2 separate regions of the Homo sapiens genome follow, and region 2 is linked to region 1. Evidence: promoter capture Hi-C in 16 types of primary human blood cells and fetal thymus (Javierre and others, 2016). All regions are on one chromosome and are shown on one strand. The core of a region is centred on a gene start or on the middle of the fragment in contact, and the rest is flanking DNA. Distances in the headings are between cores, read along the strand shown.

Region 1 (3,370 bases), core at 760-3,259:
CCGACTTTCCTACCTAGGTAGCCTAAATAACGCCCACTTTTCCCTTCTCCCTCTTGCCACCGCCTTCCCACCCTCCGGGGACTTAAGCAGCCACACTCGACCCTCCCAGCTGTGAGCCCCATGTAAAGCTGGCTCCTGTGGCCCCAGCCCCCCAGGTGGGGCTTCCCCGCTCCCTGATGTCACCTCGCTGCTACTCTAGGATCAAGACTGAACCCTTGAAATCCCACCCCCACCTGCTCTTTTGGGCTCCAGCTACACCACATAGCCAGTCACATTGACAGTCCCACCAGACACGTGCCTGGCACTGTGTTGGATGGAGACAAGAAGAAAAGGTTGCTGAACTACTCTACCTCCAAAATGTGTCCCGTGGGCTCCTGACGGGCTCTGCTTAGAACATTTCCCCTTTCCATAGCCAAAATCTGCAAAGAAACAATGTCACCCACCATGCTGGCAGGAAGTCTTTATGACCTCACATTTGGTTTTTTTCTTTTGCACATGGAGTCTCCACTGCAGTGGTTCTCACAGTCTAGAGAACTTTTTTTTTTTTTTTGAGACGGAGTCTTGCTCTGTCGCCCAAGCTGGAGTGCAGTGGTGCGATCTCGGCTCCCTGCAAGCTCCGCCTCCTGGGTTCACGCCATTCTCCTGCCTCATCCTCCCGAGTAGCTGGGACTACAGGCACCTGCCACCACGCCCGGCTAATTTTTTTGTATTTTTTGTAGAGACGGGTTTTCACCCTGTTAGCCAGGATGGTCTCAATCTCCTGACCTCATGATCCGCCTGCCTCGGCCTCCCAAAGTGCTGGGATTACAGGCGTAAGCCACTGCGCCCGGTCAGCCGAGAAAACTTTAAAAAAAACACAAGCTCCCAGACTTGTGACCCTGGAGATGGCCTGACTTGCAGACTGGCCCTGGTGTCCGTGGTCTGAAAGCGGCTCCTCAGCAGATTTTGAAGCCCAGCCGGGGCAAGCGCGTCCTCTTGTCTTGTGACAACCCCCGAATGTCCTCAGATCCTGGCATAACCACACAAACACTCCTGCACACCCCGGGCACCCAGCAGCACTTCTGCTTGGGTAGAACGAGGACGAACCAGATCTGGCCACTGCCCGGCTGTGGAGGCAGATGGAATGCTCCAGCTCGGTTTCCAATCACTGCCCACTAGGTGAAGGCACCCCGACTCCAGCCCCACGAGGAAAGCGGGCGGGCTCCTGTGCTCCCCGGGCACTAACCATCCTGTACTGGAACTGTCTGTCTTGGGGGAGGTCTCCCCGCAACCAGACTGTGAGCTCCTAGCAGGGGACTCCGCCTTTGAATTCCGAGTGCCTGGCACGCAGTGAGCGCTCTGCACATTGATGGGTCAATGGACGAGCTCGTGCTGCAGCGGAGGTGCCACACGTGGCGCGGGAACTGGAAGCGTCCCCGGGGCCGGCGCCCTCGTCTCTCACCTGTGTCTCCCACGGAAGCCAGCACCGGGCTGGGCACATAGCACATAAAGGCCGGCCGAATGCCGAAGAAGGGGGAGTCCAGGTCCCTGCCATGGGGGCGCTCACAATTTAGCTGGGGGAGACAAGACCGGCGCTCATAGAACGCTGGAGCTGGAAGCAACGACAACAGCGACTTTACTGCGTGCCGGGGCGGCCGCCGCCCACCTGGACCGCTGGACTCGGCCCCTGCCCCGCTCACCGTCGGGAATGGCGAGGCTCCGGGCTCGGGACAGCGGGGTGGCGCCCGGGCGGCGCTGGTAGCCCGACATCGCCGCCGGCCCGGCGGGGCACGACCTGCCTAGCCCGGCAGCGGCGGCTCCATGGCCCCGGCTCCGCCCGTGCCGCGGCCCGCGTCGCCCGCCCCCGTCGCCCGCCCCCGTCGCCCGCCGCTCGGCCGCCCCCGCGCCTCCGAGCCTCTCGCCGCTGCTTCCGCTCCGAGCACCGAAAGCGCGTGCCTGAACGCCTTGGGCCGTCGGCGAGGGGGAGGGGAAGCCGTGGGCGGAAGCGGAAGTGACGACTGAAGCGGGGCGGAGACGCAAGATGGCGGCTGTGGTGCTGGCGGCGACGCGGTTGCTGCGGGGCTCGGGTTCTTGGGGCTGTTCGCGGCTGAGGTGAGCCAAAGGCGAACCAGGCTTCGGCCTGGGGCGGGGGCGGCTCGAGTCTTTCTGGACGCTCCGTCTTCGGTTTCTACAGGTGACATGGCGCCCGTGGGACGGGCTCGCACTTCGGGACACTGGTGTCCCCGAGGCGACGGGGGCCCTGCCTTGCTTTGCGCCTCGAGCCCGGGGACGCAGTCCCATCTGTCTCTCCTCTCCCCGGCTGCTGGGTCCTCTCCCCCCCTCACTTCCCGGGTCGACGGGCCTTCTCCGAGGCCATGCCTCATATTTGCCCCCGCGCTTCACCTACCGCGTGCTCCTTCAGGAGGCTGAGCCGGTGGGGGCCCAGCTCTGTTAGACCCGCAGGGTTCTGACACCAGGGTCCAGGCTCTCGGTTGCTGCGGTCTGTCCGTTGATCTCTGACGTTTAAGAACCCTTTCCGTACCCACCGCTCCTCCCACCCAAGTGACCGGGCCTGCCTTTCCCCACGCTGGAACTTTGTTCCGACAGCACAGGCGTCGCCCCTCCCCACACAACGAGCGCCGTTTCAGGGGTGCGGAGGTGCTGCCTCCAGGAGATGGATACAGGCTGGAGCGTAAACAAAATATCGGCAGTCGCGTAAATGCTTTGGAGTAAACAAGCAGCCTTTCATGATAGAAAATAGCAGGAAAGACTAGACTGGTGAGGGATAGTCCTCCATCAGGGTGACATTTAAGGGAAGAGCTGAAGAATGAAAGAAGGGGTAGGCATGGGCAAAGGGCAAGCCCTGGAACGGTGAAGAAGCTTTGGGGTTGATGAGTCAAATGTGTTCCAGGAATTGACAAGAATCAGTGTGACCAGGACCTATGGGAGTGTGGGGGTTCAAGAGATGAGTTTGGAGAGGGAGACAGAGGCCAAGTCACACCCCGCCTTCGGACCAGGTTAATAAGGGATATGGCTTTTATCCAAGACTTCGGTGGTGCTGTTGGAGGGCAGAGCTGTTAAGTGCTTTATGTGTACAAACTGCACTTAGAGTGAGTTACTGTTAATAAGCCCTGTTTTTACAGAGATAGCAACTAAGACCCAAAGGACGGAACCAGCTTGCTCCAGGTCCCGTGGCTGAGCCTTTGTTGTCAGCCTCTGCTTTGTCTTCCAAAGTCTGTAGAAATAAGTCCTGTAGAAAGGCAGATGCTCACTTTTAACCCAGACAAAACATAACTAACCGCACCTAACAGGTCATCACAGGTTTGTTGTCTCAAGCCTGTTGTAACTGGGCCGCTTTCTCTGTTTTAGGTTTGGACCTCCTGCGTACAGA
Region 2 (3,370 bases), core at 495-2,994, 340 kb after region 1:
ACGCCACCCAGCAGGCCACTCTTCTGTGAAGGGAGGCGGGCACCGACTCCTGCCCCAGCACGGCTACCCCCACAGCCCGGCTGCCCTGTAGGTGTCCCCTGTGTAGCACGGCCGCCCCACAGCCTGGCCCACCCGACCCCTGCACGCCGCCACCAGCCATGCATGTGGTCGGGTGCGCCTGCCTGAGGCCACAAGGCCAGTCTGGCCAACAGCGTCCATGACCATATTGTTTGGGGATTTATGTTATGAAAGAACCAGTGGTTCTTAGGTCCGAATGCATTATCCTCCTTTAAACAGAATTCCCGAAAAAGGCCTGCTGAGAGGACAGGCTTCCCCAGCTCTGACCACAGCCTGCAGCCCAGATGACCCAGGACAGGGATGCATGAAGGAGCATAGTCAGAGCAGTGCCCGCCGCGGTATTGAAGGTGGGAGTGCCACCTGGAGGCCCCAGGGACACAGATGTGAGTAGCTGGGCAGAGGGCTGGTGGCTCTGCACAGAGCCCAGTGGGAAAAGTGACGGGGGTGCAGAGGGGCCGTGGGAAGCCCCCAGGCCGCGGTGCCCGGGAGCAGATGTGCAAAGTACATGATGTGGCTGAGCCACAGTCCTGCCTGCGGGAAGGCCTGGCAGGACCCGCCCACTCACCCGTGCTGAGAGGACAGCGTCCGCAGGTTGTTTTCTGGAGTGAGGGTCACCACCACCCCCACGACGTTCTTCATGTCCTTCTCCATGGCAAAGCCCTTTTCCCGGGAGGCCACCGCAAGCACGTACCAGGGCCCAAGAAGCTGCATTGAGGCGGCTCCCGTTAGGGCCGCCAGCCCTCCAGCCTCCAGCCTCCAGCCTCCAACCCTCCAGCCTCAGCCTCCAGCCTCCAAACCTCCAGCCTCAGCCTCCACCCTCCAACCATCCAGCCCTCCAGCCTCCAGCCTCCAACCCTCCAGCCTCCAGCCTTCCAGCCCTGCAGCCTCCAGCCTCCACCCTCCAACCATCCAGCCCTCCAGCCTCCAGTCTCCAACCCTCCCGCCCTCCAGCCTCCAACCTTCCAGCCTTGCAGCCTCTAGCCTTCAGTTCTCCAGCCCTCCAGCCTCCAGCTTCCAACCCCCCAGACCTCCAACCCTCCAGCCTCCAGCCTTCCAGCCCTACAGCCTCTAGGCTCCAGCCCTCCAGCCTTCCAACCTCCAGCCTGCAGCCCTGCAGCCTCTAGTCTCCAGCTCTCCAGCCCTCCAGCCTCCAGTTCTGCAGCCCTCCAGCCTCCAGCCCTCCAGCCTCCAGTTCTACAGCCCTCCAGCCTCCAGCCCAGCAGCCTCCAGCCTCCAGTTCTCCAGCCCTACAGCCTCCAGCCCTCCAGCCTCCAGTTCTCCAACCCTACACCCTCCAGCCCTGCAACCTCCAGTCTCCAGCCTCCAATTCTCCAGCCCTCCAGCCTCCAACCCTCCAGCATCCACCCCTCCTGCCCTGAGGCTCCTGCCTGTGGGACTCCCCAAGGGCTGGCCCAACTAATTCCCCACTGCTCATGCTGGTCTGGGCTAGCCCTGGGGGGCCCAGAAGCTGTGTGGCCTTAAAGGAGGGGCTGGCCCCCGAGGACCAGCTCTCCCCACCCCCAGGAGGACTGTACCTGCTCAGGGTCCAGTCTTCCCAACCACACGGCCTGGGCCCTGGGCACCGAGACCAAAGCCAGAAAAGCAGCCAGCAGCAGGCCGCCCATCCTCCCAGGTCTACACTGCGCCGCAGGCCCAGGATGTGCAGTCCCTCCAGGCCCTGGAGACCCGTTTATATGGCTCTGAATTTCTCCGTGTGGGTGGCACTAACTGCCAGGAACCCTCCTGGCCTCCTGCAAAATTACCCAGGGGAGCACTGAGCAGTGGCAGCCTCTGAGCCCAGATCAGACCAGCTGCACAGCCAGGAGAGGGTCTGGAGTGTGTGGATCAACCATACTATACTGATCCCCTGCTTTCTTCCACCAGAAGGTTCCAGAATGGGCATCCTAAAGCCAGCCGCACCACCTCCCCCGTTCCTGGGGACCCACGCTCTCCCTCGCCCAGCCTGGGAAGCAGGGAGACTGCTGTCCGCTGCCAGGCCCGGCAGGAGGCCAAGGTCAAGCCCAAGGAGAGGAACCAGGGCGAGAACAAGTGGTTCTCAGGAACTGCGGTTTTGGATATCTTTTGTTTCAATCATTAAATATAAAAAGTCCCTGAAAGCCTTTTGAAAAAGGCTCCCACCTCCTCCTGGCCCACCCACCATTCTGCTTTGTGGCCTGGCCTCTGTCCCCCACAGCCAGCACCCCCAGAACAGACTGTCCTGTTCCTTCCACCTCTGCAGCCCACCATCCGGCCCTGCTGCCTCCTGCCTCCCCTCCCTGGGACCCTGGCCTGCTTGTGCCTCCCAAGGCCCCTTGAGAGCTCTCTGCAGCCCCAGTCCGGGAGCAGAGGACAGAGGTGCTCGGCAGGGTCTATCTGAGCCCCTGAAGCCCACTGGGAGGCAGCCGGGAGGGTCCTCCCCCAGTGCCGTGGCCTGCACCCTCTGGGATTCACTCCCACACACCTTCGCTCATTCATCAACAAGGGTGCAAGGAGCACGTCCATGCAACAAGGCTCCAGTGCCCAGGGCCGCCTGCACTCACAGAGCTTATGCTGCAGCCCTGGCCACCTGCCCTGTACCCACGCAGCAGGGCCTGTGACCACCAGAGTGCAGGAGGAAGGCAGAAACCACACAGCTACTGGGGGCTGGGCCTGCGAAGACTGACCGGGCAGTGGGGCCACGGAGGTGCCAGCCACAGCCATGGCAAGCAGGAGTTGCCCAGGGGCTGAGCCACAGAACAAGGGAGCGGGACACTTAGGCCTGGAGCCTTCAGGAGGGAGCCGTGGCTGCTCGCGGTAATCCCAGCACTTCAGGAGGCTGAGGCGGGAGGATCACTTGAGTCCAGGAGTTTGAGACCAGCCTGGGCGACATAGCAAGACTTCGTCTCTACAAGCAAGTTTAAAAATTAGCTGGACATGGTGGCGTGCTCCTGTAGTCCCAGCTACTCAGGAAGCTGAGGTAGGAGGATTGCTTGAGCCCAGGAGGTTGAGGCTGCAGTGAGCTGTGATCGTGCCACTCCTCTCCAGCCTGGGTGATGGAGCAAGACCCCATCTCTAAAATAAAATAAAAATACAAAAAGGAGGAAGCCGAGCAGCTGGGCCAGGCCTCTGAGAAGGAAACACCTGCCAGCCCCACTAGTGTCCCTAAGGGCTGCGGGGAGCCTGGTTCTCGAGGCAGCCACAAAACAGCACGCTACATCAGCCGGGTGTGGTGGCTCATGCCTATAATCCCAGCACTTTGGGAGGCCGAGGCGGGCAGATCACCTGAGGTCAGGAGTTCGAGACCAGCCTGGCC

The links. The method cuts DNA at HindIII sites, captures the fragments that hold promoters and counts their contacts. A CHiCAGO score of 5 or more calls a contact.
Region 2: the fragment with the promoter of LCN6 here is called in contact with the fragment with the promoter of PMPCA in region 1 in 2 of 17 cell types (megakaryocytes and M0 macrophages); the score reaches 6.1 in megakaryocytes.

Annotation. Positions count from the first base shown.
Region 1 is chr9:136,408,649-136,412,018 of GRCh38, forward strand. It overlaps PMPCA (peptidase, mitochondrial processing subunit alpha), which reads left to right and starts at 2,010. Exons shown (of 13, transcript NM_015160.3): 1 at 2,010-2,091; 2 at 3,349-3,370. The coding sequence starts at 2,021. ENTR1 (endosome associated trafficking regulator 1) reads right to left here and starts at 1,966. Exons shown (of 10, transcript NM_001039707.2): 1 at 1,680-1,966; 2 at 1,442-1,591; 3 at 351-419. The coding sequence starts at 1,749. RefSeq lists enhancers at 1,069-1,228, 2,079-2,168, 2,199-2,248 and silencers at 1,589-1,638, 1,779-1,868. The HindIII fragment of the contact is 5,612 bases long and covers 1-2,857 here.
Region 2 is chr9:136,746,781-136,750,150 of GRCh38, forward strand. LCN6 (lipocalin 6) reads right to left here and starts at 1,745. Exons shown (of 7, transcript NM_198946.3): 1 at 1,614-1,745; 2 at 644-783. The coding sequence starts at 1,703. LOC100128593 (a long non-coding RNA gene) reads left to right here. Exons shown (of 3, transcript NR_033913.1): 2 at 298-1,792; 3 at 1,966-3,131. It overlaps MIR6722 (microRNA 6722), which reads right to left and starts at 190; the gene lies at 113-190. The HindIII fragment of the contact is 9,973 bases long and covers 1-3,370 here.